Regions from separate parts of the Homo sapiens genome. Here regions 2, 3, 4 and 5 are each linked to region 1. Evidence: promoter capture Hi-C in 16 types of primary human blood cells and fetal thymus (Javierre and others, 2016). All regions are on one chromosome and are shown on one strand. Each heading gives the region's core, a stretch centred on a gene start or on the middle of the fragment in contact. The rest is flanking DNA. Distances are from core to core; before and after follow the strand shown.

Region 1 (3,726 bases), core at 1,227-3,726:
GTTACAGGACCATGGGCAGAGGCTCAGTGTATGTGTAGGAGTGAAGAAAGAGGGGCTGGGCTTCTCTAACCTCCCCATTGGTGCCCCTGGAAGGCTTCTGAGACAGGAAGAGCTATGATTTTGTCCCTGGGGGACAATAAAATATGGGCAGAGGAGGGAGAAAAGTCAGGAAGGGAGGCTGACCCCAGCAGCGCTAGTAGCTGCTCCTGGCCATGGACCATCTCAGGAGGTGAGGGTGAACCACTAAGAAAGGAAGGAGCAGTCACTGGCTGGCAGAGGTCAGCAAGAGGTTGGGAGGCAGAGGAGGTGCAGAACGGGTGCAGCAGTGAGCAGATGGGACTGTCAGACCCAGACCCCCCCTTTGGCAGGTGTGACGGGGTAGAGGCACCCCGCTGGCCGGTTCAAGGCACATTCTACCTCTAAGTATCCCAGTGACCTTGTGGGAGTCACCTCCTTACTGCACTGTATGCCCTCACCCACCTGCCTCAGGCTCCCCACCTGTAAAGCTGGCATCATAAATCAAGACACTGGCATTGAACTGGGCCTTGATACTCAGAGGATGGGACAGGTCATCAGTAACTCTCCTGCCTCCAGGAGGACAGCGCGAGTGGCTTCATGACCTTGGGAAAGTCACTCAAGCTTCATTTCTCAGCTATGAAATAGGGACAATGATGCCTTCCTCATGAAGCTTCTGTGAGGATTAGCTGAGTCAACCGTTGCATTGTGCCCAGCATGGAGCTGGGCATGAGGCTCTCAACCACTGTTCATCTCCTCTGGGAACAGAAAAATGTGCTTCAAATATCACTGAACACTATTCCACATTTATCCAGCTCTTCTTTAAGAAATTCTTACTTGTCTCCTATTTACTAACACTCACCCAGCATTTTATACCGTAAAAGTAGTCTCCCATCTCCTTATCCAGATTATTTCTTTCAACAGCAAAGTAGACATTGCTAACACTACACCTGTTTTACAGATTGAAAACAGACTCAGAAAGGTCAATGGCTTACCTGAGGTCACATAACCTAGATTTGATCCCATGTCTTTCTGACATCAGAGTCCATGACTCCCAACCCACATACCCCTACCTCTTAAAACCCAGTTGACTCTTTAGTCAGTCTTCAAGAATACCTCCTCCACCCCACAGGAGAGTGGGATGGGGCATAAAGTTAAGGAACCAGAAAGCTACTGCTGTGTGGGAACAATTTCCTAGCCAGCTGGGTCCTATTTTTGACTGAGGAAGAAGCTGGCACAAACTGGGGCCATGACCTTAAGATGCTCCCTGGACAGAGGAACTTGTGCACGTCTCTCCGTCAAAGCCCAGCACCTGCCTTTTCTCTTGCCATGGGACAAAAGACCAGCTCAAGCCCCCGATGCTAGGGTGAGTGAGGTCTTAGGACAGCGAGAAGTTATGGCTGGGATAGGGCACAGGCATTGAAGTACCACGTCAGACCTTGGTACAACCTTCCCTTCCTCCCACTAAATCTCTCCCCACAATGGATCTGCTGTCAGGAGTAGGAACTGCAGGAGGCTTCAACACTGTCCAGGCAGGAGCCCTGGGAGGGAGGGGGAGGCGGAGGCAAGGCAGAGGCTGCGTCTTTTCTCAGCTCTCTTCTTTACCAGGAATTCACTCTGGCGCAGGTCTAACTCTGGGCTAGAAACTCTCTCTGGGCGTCCGTGGTTGGGGTGGGGGGTGTGCACAGAGAACCCCCTCCCAAATTCCTAGTAGCTATTTTCTCTTCTGTGTCCTCCATCCTCTTCCCAGTGCAAGAGTAAATGCCATCCTGTGAGACCCAGTTCTCCTTGCCAGCTCCTGCCTCCCTAGGGGCATTTGGGTAGCCGGGAAAGGGGCCAGGCTGTCCCCTGGGCCGGCACCTCCTGCTGGACAGAGGCCCAGCATCCAGGTGGGGGCCTGCTCCCTTCACCAGGGCCAGTGACCAGCATCTCCACAGGGTTACTGCATCGGTCCTCCCTTCCCTGGGGAGCAGGTCCTTCTCCTCAGTGGGACTGCGGTTGGGGGGCCTCCCTGGCACCCTCATGGACTAGGCCATGGTCATTTATGCCCAGGGGAGTCCTGCCCATGACCCCAAAGGTCTCCACTGTCTCCATCCCTCTCAGTGAAATGAATGTTCCTCATCTCTGCTCCCCGGGCGCCTGGCACCCCCGGACAGACGCCCTCGCCGACCTCCCACACTGCCCCTCTGCTCGGGGGAGCCTGCAGACCACGGGGGTGCTGGGGAGGCCCGAGCTTCCACCCAGCCCCAGCCCCTCGGGGATATGCCCCCGCCCCACAGGCGCTCTCACCTCACCGCTGACCGCCGCGATCTACCGGGCGCTGGGGCCAGGCCCTCGGGTCCCGCCGGTCCGGGCTGCCGCCTAGTCTGGGCTGAGTTGGGCAGGGCAGCTCCGCGGCCCCCACGGCCCCGCACCCTCTGCCTCCCCGCGGGTGCTGCCGCCGCTTGCTGAAATGCTGGACAGCGCACCGCCACCGAGGCGCCTCTCTGCTCGCCCGCCAGCCAGAGCGGCCCAGCCCCGCGCCCGCAGCGCCCTCCGCAGGCCTGGAGGAACGCCCGCAGCGGAGGCAACAGCCCGGGCGGCTGGGCCGGGCCGTCTCCCGGCCGGCTCCCCCTCCTCCCCGCCCCCTTCGCCCCCCTCCCCCCCTTCCCCTCGCCCCTCACCTCCCCACACCCCCGCCCCTATCCCCAGCCCCCGGGGACATCTGTTTCCCCCACTTGCGAGAGGAGGCATGTCAGCCCTGGAAGGCGCCTGGGGCAAGGGAGGTTATTAGTTTGGATCTGGGAAATGCAGTCGGTGTGCAGAGGCCTCGCCAGGACACTCTCTTCCCACCCAGTGTTAAAGAAGGCACCAGGGGCTGGGCGCGGTGGCTCACGCCTATAATCCCAGCACTTTGGGAGACTGAGGCGGGAGGATCACTTGAGGCCAGGAATTCGAGACCAGCCTGGCCAACATGGTGAAACCCAGTCTCTACTAAAAATACAAAAATTAGCCAGGCGTGGTCGCAGGCACCTGTAATCCCAACTACTCAGCTACTTGGGAGGCTGAGGCAGGAGAATCGCTTGAATCTGGGAGGCGGAGTTGCAGTGAGCCAAGATCGCACCATTGCACTCCAGACTGGGCGACAAGAGCAAGACTTAGGGTCAAAAATAAAATAAAATAAAATAAAATAAAAGGCACCAGGGAGGTGAGGTGGGAGGATCGCTGGAGCCCAGGAATTTGAGGCTGCAGTGACCTATGGTGGCGCCACTGCACTCCAGCCTGAATGACAGAGGCTGTCATTTTTTGACACCATCTCAAAAATTTAAAAAAAAAAAAAGGAGGGTGTAGTGTGAGAGACATCCTAATGGAGACAGGAGATTTTAAATTATTTTTTTAAATTTTAAAATTTTGGCTGGATGCAGTGGCTCACATCTGTAATCCTAACATTTTAGGAGGCTGAGGTGGGAAATCACTGAGCTCAGGAGTTTGAGACCAGCCAGGCCAACATGAGGAAACCCTGTCTCTATGAAAAATACAAAAATTTGCCAGATGTGGTGGCATGCATGCACCTGTGGTCCCAGCTACTTGGGAGGCTGAAGTGGGAGGAAGGCTTGAGCCTGAGAAGCGAAGGTTGCAGTGAACCAAGATTGCTCCATTGCACTCCATCCTAGGTGACAGAGCCTCAATTTGTCTCAAAAACAAAAACAAAACAAAAAAACAAAAACAACA
Region 2 (3,725 bases), core at 778-3,277, 110 kb before region 1:
AGTGAGACCCGCATCTCTACAAAAAATTAGAAACTTACCAGGTATAGTGGCGCACACCTGTTGTCCCAGCTACTCGGAAGGCTGGACAGGAGGATTGCTTGAGCCCAGGAGTTGGAGGTTGCAGTGAGCTATGATCTCACTAGTGTACTCCAGCCTGGAGACAGAGTGAGACCTGGTCTCTAAAAAAGAAAACAAAAAGAAAAGAAGAAGCCAAGCACGGTGGCTCATGCCTATAATCTCAGCACTTCAGGAGGCCAAGACGGGCGGATCACCTGAGGTCAGGAGTTCAAGACCAGACTAGCCAACATGGTGCAACCCCGTCTCTACTAAAAATACAAAAATTAGCTGGGTATGGTGGTGCACACCTGTAATCCCAGCTAATCTGGAGGCTGAGGCACAAGTATTACTTGAACCCATTGGGAGGAGGCTGCAGTGAGCCAAGATGGTACCACTGCACTCTGGCCTGGGCAATAGAGCGAGACTCTGTCTCAAAAAAAGAAAAGAAAAAAAAGAAAGAAAGAACGGATTTCCTGTGCGAGGAGGGACTTGGTGTTGGGAGGGGTACAGTCAGGTAGTGGAGCTGAGTCAGGGAGGGACAGAATCAGTGGGGCAGATGGGAACTCACGAGGGGTCCAGTGAGGGCATGAGGGCCAAGAGAGGGTAGGTGAACCCAAAGAAGGGAGTGATTTCTTTTTTGTTTGTTTGTTTGTTTGTTTGTTTTTGTTTTGAGATGGAGTTTTGCTCTTGTTGCCCAGGCTGGAGTGCAATGGCACTATCTCAGCTCACCACAACCTCTGCCTCCTGGGTTCATGCCATTCTCCTGCCTCAGCCTCCTGAGTAGCTGGGACTATAGGCGCCTACCACCACACCTGGCTAATTTTGTATTTTTAGTAGAGATGGGGTTTCTCCATGTTGGTCATGGCTGGTCTTGAACTCCTGACCTCGTGATCTGCCTGCCTCAGCCTCCCAAAGTGCTGGGATTACAGGTGTGAGCCACTGCGCTGGCTGACCTTTTTTTTTTTTTTTTTTGAGATGGAGTCTCGCTCTGTCACCCAGGCTGGAGTGCAGTGGCTCAGTCTTGGCTCACTGCAACCTCCACCTCCCGGGCTCAAGTGATTCTCATGCCTCAGCCTCCCGAGTAGCTGGGACTACTGACACCCACCACCATGCCTGGCTAATTTTTTTTGTATTTTGGTAGAGACTGGGTTTCACCATGTTGCCCAGGGTGGTCTTGAACTGCTGAGCTCAAGTGATCCGTCCGCCTCGGCCTCCCAAAGTGCTAGATTACAGGTGTGAGCCACTGCACCCGGCGGGAGTGACCTCTTTGTCATCCATCCACCTGATTAAGTTTTCAACCTCCTTATCCTGTGGTCCCACCAGCCTGAAGACATAGACGCTCCCAGCCATTCCTAAGAGGACTTTGAGGAGCCCATCATATGGAGAGCAGAACGACATAGGGAAAAAAGGGGTTACTTAGTGGGGTCAGGGGCCAGACTGAAGGCCTTTCTCACCCAGGCCCTTGTTGGTCATGCACAGAAATATCTGCATATCCTCAAGTCCCCCTGGGACTTTGGTCTTCCTACGATTGTTAGGGGACCTGGGTAGCTTCCACTATTCATGACTCCCCCTAGATCGTCACCCTGCATGGGACTGACAACACCAACAGACAACCAGAGGTCCCCCAGAAGTGAAGTCTCAGAATGGAAACTGAGCCCAGGGCCAGGCTGCACCCCAGCCCATGTCTCCGCCAGGGTGCAGCGGGCCCAAACCAAGGTCTGGCCCCAGCCCTGGGCTTTTTCCCTGGTTTTTTTTTTTTTTTTTTTTGAGATGGAGTCTTGCTCTGTTGCCCAGGCTGGAGTACAATGGCGCTATCTCAGCTCATGGCAATCTCTGCCTCCTGGGTTCAAGCAATTCTCCTGCCTCAGCCTCCAGGGTAGCTGTGATTACAGGTATCCGCCACCATGCCTGGCTAATTTTTTGTATTTTTAAGTAGAGATGGGGTTTCACCCTGTTGGCCAGGCTGGTCTTGAACTCCTGACCTCAGGTGATCCGCCTGCCTCGGCCTCCCACAGTGCTGGGATTACAGGTGTGAGCCACCTCGCCCGGCTGGCTTTTTCCTAAACATGGAGCTACTCCTGCCGCCTCAATCAATTCTTTATTTTTTTTAGAGACAAGGTCTTGCTCTGTCACCCAGGCTGGAGTGCAGTGGCATGTCCATAGCTCACTGTAGCTTCGAACTCCTGGGCTTAAGAGATTCTCCCGCCTTAGCCTCCCAAGTAGATCAGACTGCAGGCACCACCGTGCCCAGATAATTTCTTATTTTTAGTAGAGCCAGAGTCTCACTATGTTGCCCAGGCTGGAATGCAGTGGTATGATCATAGCTCACTGCAGCCTCAACCTCCTGGACTCGAGCCATCCTCCTGCCTCAGCCTCCTGAGTAGCTGGGACTATAAACATATGCCACCATGCTCAGAATTTTTTTTTTTCTTTGAGATGGAGTTTCACACTTGTTGCCCAGGTGGAGTGCAATGACACAATCTTGGCTCACTGCAACCTCTGCTTCCCAGGTTCAAGCGATTTTCCTGCCTCAGCCTCCTGAGTAGCTGGGATTACAGGCAAGCACCACCACATCTAGCTAATTTTTGTATTTTTAGTAGAGATAGGGTTTCGCCATGTTGGTTAGGGCTGGTCTTGAACTCCTGACCTCAGATGAACCACCTGCCTCAGCCTCCCAAAGTGCTGGGATTACAGGTGTGAGTCACTGTGTCCAGCCCCAGCTAATTTTTAAAAACGTTTTTGGTAAAGATGGGGACTCACTATGTTGCTTAGGTTGGTCTTGAACTCCTGGGCTCAAGCGATCTTCCCGATTCAACCTCTCAAAGTGCTGGGATTACAGGCATGAGCCACTGCGCCTGGCCTTGATTCATTCTTTAACCCCAATCCCTCCTGGCAGGCTCTGCCCCCTTGTTCAGTCCTGGGGCGGTGGGCAGGGAGGGGGAAGACTTCCTTCTACCAGAGTCAGCTGCTGATACCATCACTGTCATCTTAGGCAGGGCAGCTGCTGTACCCAGCTGAGAAGAAGGGTGGGAGGGGCTGTTATGCTATAGGAACCCCGCCCAGAGGGAGTCTGTTTTTCCCAGGGTCCCCAGCTGTGCTCTTTTCTCCCTGGGCTGAGTCGAGAGCCCTGGCTGGACACTTGCTTTTTGTTTGCAGGCCAGCCAGGGAGGCTCTGCCACCCTCGTGCTCCTGCCCGAGGCCATCCCACGAGTCTGTTATTGATCCAGAGCCGTCCCTTCTCAGCCAAGCCAGGGATTCCCGGCATTTGTCACACTGCCAACTCTCCCAGCACCAACTGGCGGTTGGCAGGGCTGTCTCTTGTAAGCAGCCCATGAAAATATGGCTCGTCCTTGGGAGGCACAGTTAGATGGGCAAAGCGAGGTCCAAAGTCACCTGGCGAGTTGGAAAGGGAAAGAGAACCAGAGGTCTCGACCAGGAGGAGCGTGCCAGGAATGGAGTGATCTCTGCTTATGCGTGGGTCTCCATCCCTGGCCTCCTCAGCGCTGGCACCCAGGGCATCGGTTGATGGGTAGAACAGTGCACCCTTTGGGGTGGAGTGCACGCACCCTGCTCCTGCCCTGCCCAGACCTGCTGGGTGACCCTGGCCAAATGCAGTCCCAGTCAGGCCTCAAGTTCCCCTCTGTAAGCTGAAGGGTTGGGCCAGCCAG
Region 3 (3,634 bases), core at 686-3,185, 84 kb before region 1:
CTTCCTTTCCTTTTTCTTTCCTTCCTCTTCTTTCTTTTCTTTCTTTTTTGAGACAGAGTCTCACTCTGTTGCCCAGGCAGGAGTACAGTGGCTCGATCTCGGCTCACTGCAACCTTTGCCTCCCGGGTTCAAGCGATTCTCCTGCCTCAGCCTCCTGAGTACCTGGGATTATAGGTGCCCACCACCACACTCGGCTAATTTTTGTATTTTCAGTAGAGACGGGGTTTCACCATGTTGGTCAGGCTGGTCTCGAACTCCTGACCTCAGGTGATCCGTCCGCCTCAGCCTCCCAAAGTGCTGGGATTACAGGCGCGAGCCACCGCGCCCGGCTGTGGCCACCTTTTAAATGCTCACTCTATGGCAGTCACAGTCACTGAGCTGAGGACTGTCAGAATATTTCCTGCCCACCTCATCTCAGCTGTGTGTCACATGGCTGGGAGGCACAGGAGCCAGGATGCATGCCTGCATGCTGCCTCAGGCTGTGTCCCAACCACTCTGTGACACCCCACCATGTTGTGAGTGTCCCCTGTGCCTATGTCCACCCTGTGTCTCCTCCCTCTACCCCATCCCTACCCACTGCTGAAGGTAGCCTGGGTGTGTGGGCTCAGGCAGCCCACCCCGTGGGATGTTCAAAGTCCACCCGGCCTCCAGGCTGGGAGGAAGGTCTCTTTGGGTCCCTGTTTTAGCCTCAAGCTCAGAGGCAGGGGGATAGACACACTGGCTCCTGGATGCCAGCTCTTCTCTCTGGGGTCCCAAGGAGCAGTCTGAGCCTTTCGCCTCCCTCAGAGGAAGACCCCAGCCCCGCTGCCCTCCTGAATCTCCCGGGGTGCCAACATGCACAGAGGCCTGGTCTCACCACCTACCATCCGGGCACCAAGGGTTTTATTCGAGTCCAATTTTTATCCGCACTGCGGAGAAAGAGGGAGGGGGGACATAGAGAAAGCGGGGAACCCGGACCAGACCCCAGACCCCTCCCCCCACTGGAGCCCGGGGCATCTGCCTGGTTGGGCCAAGGAAGACTTCATGAGATCCCTGAGGGCCCCAGGAGGAGGGGGCTGGGAGCAGCAGAAGAGGACTGGGGGCCACCGCTTCCCCATCGACGCCCCAGGCCAGGGCCCTCAGTCTCTTTCCTCCCCTCCCTTCTGAGGGCTGTAGCCTCCATCTCTACAGAGGCTCGGCTGGCCATGACCCCATCAGACCCCCAAGGTACTCCCTTGTCAGGTCCAAAGCACATGTTATCCTATGCCTGTGACCCTGGGCTGCCATCCAGCCCACGTCCCAGACCACAGGCACACGCTGCCCTCCTCTTGGGTGGGGCTGGGGGCACTGCTGACCTGTCAGCTGCTCCCTCCCCAGGGACCCGTCTCCACTCCCTGGGGGCTACTCAGTCAGTGAACGACTTTGCTTTTTCTCTTTCCTACAGATTCCACCTCCCATCTACCCCTTTCCTCTCCCACCTCTTGACCTGAACCCCTTTTAACCTCAGGGTCAAATGTACCTGAGGTCTGTACCCCCCACCTCTTGTCATGCAGTAGTCATGGCTGGTAGGACCTTGGCCCAGGGCATGGGGTGAGGAGAGCCTGGCCTGGAGAGGTCAGACCAAGAGTGAGGTGCCTAGCTCCCCAGGCTGGGATTTTGGGGGCCACCCGTCTGGGCACTCCTGGGTCAGTGGAGGAGCTTGGGGGAGGCTGTGGGGCCAGCCACCAGCCCTCAGCCAGGGTCCTCCTGCAGCCAGCTCAAAAGGATGCAGCTCCCCAGCTTGGATGGGGGTGCACCAAGGGTTAGGCTGTTCTTCCTTCTGTCTAGCTCCAAACCCATGTGCTGTACCACCTCCTCGTCTGCCCAGTGATAAGAGAGGAGTGGAGGGAGCTGTGTAGTGCGGAAGAGGGGCTCCCAGGGCTGGCACCTTGCAAGGTGTCCCTGGCTGCACTGAGCTAAGGTGAAGTGACAGAGCAGATCATGGACTCTGGTACCATCCACCGGCAGCAGTCCCAAGCCTGGTGAGTTGGCATCAGCAGGAAGGGGGATGGGGAGATTCCTGTGTTCGTAACGGCTCTTTGTTCCCCGGGCACAGTGGGTGGACAGGAGGTGGGAGAGGACACCCGTAGAAGCAGCACATCTGGCTTCTCCTTGTCCACTGGATGCCCACCCTCAAAGTCTTCCCCGGTCCCATCTGCCCGTGCACTGGCCCTGAGACCTCTTTGTAGCCTTGGGGGCAAGGAGATATAGCCCCCTCCCCACTGGGGTCCTGGGGCCCGCCCCTCGCCTCTCCCAGTGCCAGGGGGGCACCAAGCTGAGTCTGTCTGGGCTCAGAAGCCCCCGCTCTCAGAGCTGCTCCGGCTGTGGTAGCTGGGACTGGGGGTCCTCGAGGGGCTGCGTGTCCGGCTGCGGGTCCCATGGCTGCGACTGCTGTAGCTCCCGTGGCTGTGGCCGGGGCTGGGGCTGCGGCTGTGGCTCCGGGTCGAGTAGTCGCTGCTCAAGCAGCTGGAGGAGGAAGAGGGGCTGGGCCGGTAGTATGGAATAGGACGCTTGCGGGCGCTGCCGGGAAGAAAAAGCTGATTACAGGCCATCCCAGGCCCCGAGCCCCATCCCAGCAGCGGCCAGGGCTTCCTGCCTCAGTTTCCCCTGAGCCCTGGCCTTAGAGACACCTGCCTTCTCCAAATGGAATCTGACGGTCATTGGTTACTTGCAAATTCCATGTTGATCATTTTGCTTTTCTTCACCTATCTGCAGGGAAAGGAGACCATGTCTCTGCCCGATCCGAACACCTGCTAATAAATACTTGTTGAGGCTGGGCGCGGTGGCTCACGCCTGTAATCCCAGCACTTTGGGAGGCTGAGGCGGGCGGATCACTTGAGGTCAGAAGTTTGAGACCAGTCTGGCCAACATAATGAAACCCTGTCTCTACTAAAAATACAAACATTTGCCGGGCATGGTGGTGTGCACCTGTAATCCCAGCTACTTGGGAGGCTGAGGTGGGAGGATCGCTTGAACCCCAGAGGCGGAGGCTGCAGTGAGTGGAGATTGCGCCACTGCACTCCAGCCTGGGTGACAGAGTGAGACTCCGTCTCAAAAAAAAAAACTTGTTGAATGAATGAAACTTGCAAATGTGGACAGCTCCCATCACCCAAGCTGGCGTGTAAGTGTCTGTGACTACGTCCCAGCCCTGCCTCTCTGTTCCCCTGTCCCCTCTGCAATCAAGGAATTTGTTGCTTTCAGGTCACTCGAAAGGAACAAGGAGGGGAGTCCTGGCCGCTGCTCCCCATGCCCACGGTCCGGTCCAGTCCCGCCGGCCCCACTCCTCACTCAGCTACCTCCCGCTGGCCCAGAGTTAGTTGGAAGCCAGGAGGCTATGACCCAGAGAAGAGAAAAGAGAGGTTAAGGGGCAACACTGCCCCGTCGCAGGGTTAATTCTGAGGAAGAAAACAGGTGTACGTTAGTGGAGGAGGAGGCAGCCTGGGAGAGGGGCTGAGTGGGTGCCAGGTGGAAGGTGTGAGGGCCTGGCCTACGGGCAGGGTGTGTGACCTGTCTGGGGGCGTCCCCAGCCTGGTGAGTTGGCATCAGAAGGAAGGGGGGACGCAGGAAGATCCCTGGGTTCAAAATGGCTCTTTGTTCCTTGGGCACGGTGGCTGGA
Region 4 (3,916 bases), core at 1,058-3,557, 66 kb before region 1:
GAGATTATAGGCATGCACCACCATGCCTGGCTAATTTTTTTGTATTTTTAGTAGAGACGGGGGTTCGCCATGTTAGCCAGGCTGGTCTCGAACTCCTGACCTCAGGTGATCTGCCCACCTCAGCCTCCCGAAGTGCTGGGATTACAGGTGTGAGCCACCATGGCCAGCCGAATTTTTGTATTTTTAGTAGAGCTGGGGTTTCATCATGTTGGTCAGGCTGGTCTTGAGCTCCTGACCTCAGGTGATCCGCCCCCCTCAGCCTCCCAAAGTGCTAGGATTACAGGTGTGAGCCACTGTGCCCAGCCCAAGATGGAATTTTTTGCTTGCCTGAAGTGTCTCAGCTAAACTCTGCCAGGTGCCTTCAGATCTCTCCTTCCTCCACAGTTTCCTAAGGATCTGAGTCTGAGGTCTGACACTGATGGTCCTGAACAGCCTGTCCTGCTCCCTGTCCCCTGTGTCCAGCCCATTATACTAAACTGAACCGAGGAGTAGCAGCAAGCTCCAAGAAGCTCCCTGGGCAACCCAGGACAAGTCTCTTCCCCTCCCTGGGTCTCCCGCTTCTCTCCAGCTTCCTGGGGAACGCAGCAGCACAGGCTGCACCACTATAGTTAATTTAAAATCTGCGGCAGCTCCAGCCTGTGCCTGGAGTTGAAAGGAGGATTTGCTGCCGCTGCTGACTTGGCAGGAGCTGTTGGTGTGGGAGTGATTTTTTTTTTTAGAGTTATCTTCCCTTTTAAATTCAGATTACAAAGGAAAAAAAAGTATATAGAGATGTGTATATGATTAATGTTCACTTAAAATTCAAAAGCCATCTCTGCATTAAGAGGAAAGGTTCCCACAGTAACACACACAAAAAGAAAATTCTAGAACATAGAAGATAGAAAAAAAAAACCCAGAGAGATAGTTTGCATTTCTGTACATTAAAATAGGGAAAAAAAAAAAGAAAGGAAAAGGAAATAAAAACAAAACAACAGAAAAAGTTACATAAACTTGCCCACCCTCTTCCCTCACCAGCTAAACAAGAAATGGAATCACAGTATTACCACGTTTCAAATGGGAGGCTAAAAAACAAACAAAAACATAGACGGGGTTAAAAAATGTTGAGCTTTCCTTTTTTTCCATTTGTTTCTCTCTCTCTTTTTTTCTTTTCTTTTTTTTTTTAAAGGTATCGTCCAAGAATACCACCCCCAGTATTTTTTCCCGAAGACGGTTTCGTTCATGGTAAAGTCTGGGACCCCTCTCCCATCCCCCATCTCACTTTTCTGCATATGAGCAAGAACTAGCCTCTTTTGACTCCTCAGGGGTCTTTTTAAGGCAGAGAGGCAGGGATCTGAATGCAGGTTTGAGACCCGGGATGCTCTGAAGTCCCAGATCTCCCAGGGCCCCAAGGGTGAGGGATAGGATTTGGGGACCATGCTTGGTGAAAGGAGTCACAAAATGCCGTCTCCAAGAAAACTCCCAGGGCTGTGCCAAACTAGAGTCCCATGCTGGGAGGGAGACAAGATGTGGGTGCTTCAGAAGCTCCCGCCCCAAGGCTGGTGGCTGGGTCCCCTTCCCCGACTGCCCTATCCTGGGGATGCCTAGATGCTGTGGCCATTTTGTCTGCATTGGGGAGGGGGTGGAGGTGGGATCATTGCTCAGGACTCCAGGGCTGGAGAGAGGACCAGAGGTACGAAGGGACCCACTTCCAGCCCTGACTTCAGAGAACCCGCATCTCTGTGTCTCTTGGGAGGCCCCAGAAGGGTGGATGAGAAGCTGGCAAGAAGGTGTTTCGGGTCCTGTGCTCTTGGGACTCCATGCCCACAGGGGTGGGGGATGGTGGGTGCCCCTCTTGTGGGTTGTTAATCCTCTCCAGCCTCTGCCATGCTACCCTCAGCTACCTCTGCCTGCCCTCAACCCCCTCCCAAGACAGATCCGGGGACATCAGTGTCATCCTCCCTGCGCGGCCCAACCAAAACCCCCAGAGCCCAGGAGCCTGGTGCCTGGTCCAGGTGGGACAGTCTAGAGACAGGTAAATGTCCTTCAATAAAACTTAACCTTGAGACCAAGAGCCTTCAGTCAGCTGCCCTTGACTTTCCTCTCTGAGGCCGTGGGAGTAAAGGGTGTTTGAGAAAAGAAAGGGAGTGAAAGGAAACAGCCAAAAATCAAAATGAAACTGACCAACACGTACATGTTTGCTGCTGAGACCTGAGGTCTGGGGAGGGGCAGCTCTCCCACTCCCAGCTGAGGCTTTGGGGTTGGGTGGGGGGCAGTCTGCGGGTCTGGGAAGGAACCTGCAGGTCTCCCCACCCCAAGCCACCCCCCCACCCACCCCAGTGCCCCTGCCAGCACTGCAGCCCCCTCTCTCTGAGGGGTCTCAACTGTGTACTCTATAATCAACAGACCAGAAGGGGATGTGGACCTTCCCTGGGGTCTGGGAGAAGCCCCAACCCAGGCCCAGCCCATCCATCTGGGGACAGGCTGAGACGTCTCTCTCCTCTGCCAGCTCCCCCATTGCACCTGCCTGTAGGTCTTCGGGCATCTGTGCCCCTCTTGGAGGAAGGGTGGGGACAGTTTTGGGGGTGTTGGTGTGGGGTCTCTGAGGCACGCTGGCAGGTGCCTCAGGAGGGTGGCCGTGGGAAGAGGAGCCGGCAGGTTTGAGACACCAGTCCAAGTGTGGGCGGTGCCTGGAAAAGGGCAGAGTCTCCTCAGAGCAGGGACTTTAGAGGGCAGAGGGACTGAGATGGGGGAGGGGGCTGAGGGAGGGAGGGGCTGGGGAGAAGATTGAGGGAGGGGGAGGGGGGTGCTCAGAGGTGGGGCCAGGGCTTGGTGGGAAGAGGGAGACTCAGGGCCCAGGTGGTGCCCAGTGGGGGGTCCTGTCTCTCGAATCCTGCTCCTGCCTGGGACTCCTATCAATGTCCATGCCCCTCCCACCCTAATATGCCTGGGGAGGGCACGAGACCCTGATTCCTCCCCAGCCCTGTACCCAACTCAGTGCCCCGCGGTCAACCCCCCTCTGGCCTTCAGTTTGCCAAGCGCAAGGGTGGCCCAAGACCGCAGGCGCCCCTCACCCTGACACCAGGGCCAGGTGGGCGCAACGGCCTAGCACTCCCGGCGGCTCCCGAGCCAGGACGCCCAGCGGGGAGCCGAGGAGGGAGGAAGCGGCCGCCCCCGCCCCCGCCCCCATGCCACACTTATCGCCCCCTGCCCCGCTGGCGACCCGCCCGACCACGCACGGCGCAGCCCGCGGCGCGGGAACCCTCCGCAAAGCGAAGCGTACGTACATCGGGCGGGCTGTGCGCCGAGCCGGGGCGGCCCCCGTGCGCTCCGCTCCGCTGCCCGCTGCCGCCGTTCCGCTGGGGCGACCCCCATCCGCTGCCGCCCGACGGGGAAGGCGACCGGCTTCCGCTGGACCGCTGGCTGCCCGTCTTTCGCCCTTCGTCTCGGTGCTTGGGGCTCAGCCTGGGGTTAGGCGCCAGGAAGAATGGGGGAGTCGGCGTGGGACACCCGCTTTGCAAGCAGTTGCGCCTCCTCTTTCCCCCTTCCCCAGCACGGGGAAAGAGAGCAGCCCTCCACCTGCCTTTTCACCATGCTGGGAACCTTTCCACTTAGAGAGGGCTTGACCAGGGTGAGCCAGCGAGGCTGTGCCTCGATTTCCAATTCAGGCGGAGGCTTAGGGGCCTTAGGGCAGCTCTTCCTCAAGTTATCACTCCCCTGGTAAATTTCTCTTTTTAAAAATTATTATTAGGCTGGGCTTGGTGGCTCACGCCTGTAATCCCAGCACTTTGGGAGGCCGAGACAGGCGGATCGCTTGAGGTCAGGAATTCGAGACCAGGCTGTTCGAAATGGCGAAATCCCATCTCCGCTAAAAATACAAAAATTAGTCGGGCATGGTGGTGCACGCCTGTAATCTCAGCTACTCGGGTGGCTGAGGCTG
Region 5 (3,612 bases), core at 280-2,779, 100 kb after region 1:
ATACAAATAAAAGAATGTCCGTGTCAGATTTTATTTTCCACAAATTATGTTCTCTTGCACTTTCAGCTTAAGTTCTTGGACTCACTGAGGCAGTAAAAGAACCATATCCTGTGTTTGAATCAAATCCCAAGTTCCTGTACGTAGAAGGTTTGCCAGACAGGATTCCCTTTCGAAGCCCTCCTGGTTTGGAATTCCATGACTTGAAAGGATCGTCCATGGGAGTAATAAAATCAAATTTGTTGGTAAAAAGTAAGTTTTAGGCCAGGCGTAGTGGCTCACGTCTGTAATCTCAGCACTTTATGAGGCTGAGGTGGGCAGATCACCTGAGGTCCGGCGTTCGAGACCAGCCTGGCAAACATGGCAAAACCCCGTATCCACTAAAAATACAAAAAATTAGCCGGGCATGGTGGCGGGCACCTGTGATCCCAGCTACTTGGGAGGCTGAAGCAGGAGAATCACTTGAACCTGGGAGGCAGAGGCTGCAGTGAGCCGAGATCACAACACTGCACTCCAGCCTGGGTGACAGAGTGAGACTCTGCCTCAACAACAACAACAACAACAACAATAAAAAAGTAAGTTATATTTGCCACTGTAGTCATTTCTGGAATTAAAACAATAAAATGACATTTCTACTAAAATGTTTTTCTAGCTAGAAGTGACAGGTGTGTCTGTAAGTCCTTGATGGAAAAGCCTGGCTCTGAGCTGCAGTCCTGGCACTCTCCATTGCCCCTGCCATTCCCCATCCCATACTCAGTCATCTTCATCAGTGCAAGAATAGTGACCACTGCCTCCCCGATGTTCAGACACACTGTGGTGGCTTGCAGTATGCCTAAGTACTTGAATGAAGTTTAATCTGCTGGGTTTTATCTGCTCTGTTATTCCTGGGTCAATCTTATTAGCAAGTAAATATTGATGATTGAGTTTCTTTTCCTTTTTCTGAGACAGAGTTTCACTCTTGTTACCCAGGCTGCAGTGCAATGGCACGATCTCGACTCACTGCAACCTCCACCTCCCAGGTTCAAGTGATTCTCCTGCCTCAGCCTCCCAAGTAGCTGGGATTACAGGCATGCACCACCATGCCCGGCTAATTTTTGTATTTTTCGTAGAGACGGTGTTTCACCAAGTTGGTCAGGCTGGTCTCAAACTCCTGACCTCAGGTGACCCACCCACCTCAGCCTCCCAAAGTATGGGGACTGCAGGTATGAGCCACCGTGCCCGGCCTGATGATGGAGGTTTTTTTTTAATTATATCTGCGTTTCTGCAGAATTTTGGTGGCTGAAGAAAGTACACTAGTGTTAATTTTCTTTTTCATGAAAGAAGTAATTTACTTTTCATACAATTACTTGCCAGTCATGGGAAGGAAAAGTCAGGGTTTTCATCTACAATGATAGGAATTATTGTGACATTACAGGATGACTCTGTGAACACCTTTAGGAAAAAACCCTGGTCATATCACAACCGTTTTACTAGCTGTGAGGCCACCATTGTACTGGCTGCTGTAACATTTCTTGGTTTTCTTTCTAGACCTGAACTGGTTATTTCCTACTTGCCTCCTGGAGTTGCTAATAAAATAAACACTAAAGGTAAGAGATTACCTGTGTTTTGTATTATATTTCACTACATTAAGACATTCTTTATCAGCATTCCTTAAATCACACAGAATCATTGGCCATTCTCTTTGTGGGACTTGCAGTTAATTTCTTGGCTTTTTAAGGTATTTTATTTAATGGACCTCTTTTTCTTTAAAAAAAATTTTGTTGGAAGTGTCACATTTGCAATCCCACTTCATTCATGTTTCCATGGCTTTGTTGAGTCCCCTGTGGAGGATTACACTACAAGTTTAATTCTGCAGGTTTCTTTGAAAAGAGCCAAACTGAATGAATTTTAATACTCCGCTCTTATAAAGCATTTCCTTCTGTATTTTTTTCTACAATATACTAAAGTAATTCTGTGCTTTATTTTATAGCTTCGCAGTTTCTAAAAAGACCATGAAGCCCTGAGAGTAATGAAAAGGTTCCTGAAATTGAGGTCACTGTGGAAGGTAAGGGCCAGTCCTTGGCATGTTTCTGTTGATTCTCCAGTTTAATAGTTATGTCAATTCACTAGCTACATGTTTATACAGATGAAGGTAACCAAACTAGTTTTACCTGTGAACAGCTGCCTGTGATAAAGCTAAATTTCTGAATGTCTTTAATTGAAATTTTGAAAATTATTAACAGGAAATAAATAACATGGATCACATCATAAACTGCACTCAAGAAAATCCCTAAAATGCTTTTCCTTTATTACAACAAATAAGGGTGCAGAGGGTCACATGGAATGTTTCATCTTTTGTCTTGTTTTTTCTGTTCTTTTAAGGAAAGAAAGTTGAGGGGTGGTTTAAAAAGCAGTGCCTGGAATGAAAGTATTTCCTACAACATCCTCTAATGTACTTCCTTCTCTCCATGCCCACGGGGTCTGCAGGGTTCTCATCTTTTCATGTTCACAGTATTAAAATACTTCCTACAATACCAAAGACAGTTCCCAAACAACCATCAAATATGGGTATTTCTTCCATCTCCTCATAAATGCAAAAGGAAATAACCGCATTAGGATCATTCTTTTTTATTTGGAGATGAAAGTCTCGCTCTGGCACCCAGGCTGGAGTGCAGTGGCATGATCTCTGCTCACTGCAGCCTCAGCATCCCAGGTTCAAGCAGTTCTCCTGCCTCAGCCTTCCGAGTAGCTGGGACTCCAGGTGCACACCACCACATCTGGCTAATTTTTTGTATTTTAGTAGAGATGGGGTTTCACCATGTTGCCCAAGCTGGTCTCAAACTCCTGAGCTTAGGCAGTCTGCCTACCTTGGCCTCCCAAAGTGCTAGGATTACAGGCGTGAGCCGCCACGCCCAGCCTAGGATCATTTTTTTTTATGTCCTAGGTGTCGATTTTTTAAATAAGGGTTTGCAGTACTGGTGTTTAGTGGTGCAGTAATTTCCATTTAATAATCTGGCATACTCAAAGAGAGGATACCAGATGACTTAAGAGTATACCTCACAGAGAGTATACCAGATGACAGAGTATACCAGATGACTGAGAGTATACAGAGAGTATACCAGATGACTAAATGGGGATTAGAGTATTTAAACTCTTCATTCATTCATCCTGTTAAAGGAAAGCTTACTTAATAACATAAACTCTTGGTTATGAATTAGATGTTTCTCCTATGAAAGCTTGTGGGCATCTTTGAGCAACTTAATACCTGACTATTTCTGTTCAAAAATGCCGAGAACTAAAAATCCATTCAAACCTTTACTTTTCTCCTTTTGGAAAAGATCAGAGGATCAGAGATCTCTCCTCAACACGAGGTGCCATCCTTTCCTGAAGGAGCTCCTTGTAAAGTGCATGAGGTGTTCCTTTTGGTAAAAAGACACACTGCGCGACCGCAGAGACCTGAGCCTGAACCTATAAAGATCTGAACAAGGTGAACAATGAGACTATGTAAAGGGGAGGTTAATTCCAAGGTGACAGGAACTTTATGGATAAGATTATGATTTCTACACTTCGTGTCACCTTCTAACTCTAGTATGAAGTTACATTGTATATGTTGGTGCCCTAATCTCAGTCTGTGGA

What was found. Contacts are between HindIII fragments. The CHiCAGO score rates a contact against its expected background, and 5 or more counts as called.
Region 2: a contact is called between a fragment that was not itself captured here and the fragment with the promoter of SRRM3 in region 1, in 3 of 17 cell types (endothelial precursors, M1 macrophages and M0 macrophages). The highest score is 7.0, in endothelial precursors.
Region 3: a fragment that was not itself captured here is called in contact with the fragment with the promoter of SRRM3 in region 1 in 6 of 17 cell types (endothelial precursors, M1 macrophages, M0 macrophages and 3 more); the score reaches 9.0 in endothelial precursors.
Region 4: a contact is called between a fragment that was not itself captured here and the fragment with the promoter of SRRM3 in region 1, in 3 of 17 cell types (megakaryocytes, endothelial precursors and M1 macrophages). The highest score is 6.8, in megakaryocytes.
Region 5: a contact is called between a fragment that was not itself captured here and the fragment with the promoter of SRRM3 in region 1, in 2 of 17 cell types (M1 macrophages and M2 macrophages). The highest score is 6.5, in M1 macrophages.

The regions. Positions count from the first base shown.
Region 1 is chr7:76,200,646-76,204,371 of GRCh38, reverse strand. SRRM3 (serine/arginine repetitive matrix 3) reads right to left here and starts at 2,476. Exons shown (of 15, transcript NM_001110199.3): 1 at 2,305-2,476. RefSeq lists a silencer at 2,390-2,629. The HindIII fragment of the contact is 9,812 bases long and covers 691-3,726 here.
Region 2 is chr7:76,310,206-76,313,930 of GRCh38, reverse strand. No RefSeq gene overlaps it. Among named protein-coding and RNA genes, the nearest start is that of FPASL, 6.2 kb to the left of the region's middle. The HindIII fragment of the contact is 5,877 bases long and covers 1-3,725 here.
Region 3 is chr7:76,284,519-76,288,152 of GRCh38, reverse strand. SRRM3 (serine/arginine repetitive matrix 3) reads right to left here. Exons shown (of 15, transcript NM_001110199.3): 15 at 866-2,538. The coding sequence ends at 2,310. Among named protein-coding and RNA genes, the nearest start is that of HSPB1, 16 kb to the left of the region's middle. The HindIII fragment of the contact is 6,291 bases long and covers 1-3,634 here.
Region 4 is chr7:76,266,783-76,270,698 of GRCh38, reverse strand. It overlaps SRRM3 (serine/arginine repetitive matrix 3), which reads right to left. Exons shown (of 15, transcript NM_001110199.3): 11 at 3,264-3,441. Among named protein-coding and RNA genes, the nearest start is that of HSPB1, 34 kb to the left of the region's middle. RefSeq lists a silencer at 3,224-3,353 and an enhancer at 3,250-3,916. The HindIII fragment of the contact is 9,929 bases long and covers 1-3,916 here.
Region 5 is chr7:76,097,869-76,101,480 of GRCh38, reverse strand. It overlaps the pseudogene GTF2IP7. Among named protein-coding and RNA genes, the nearest start is that of MDH2, 52 kb to the right of the region's middle. The HindIII fragment of the contact is 3,262 bases long and covers 1-3,160 here.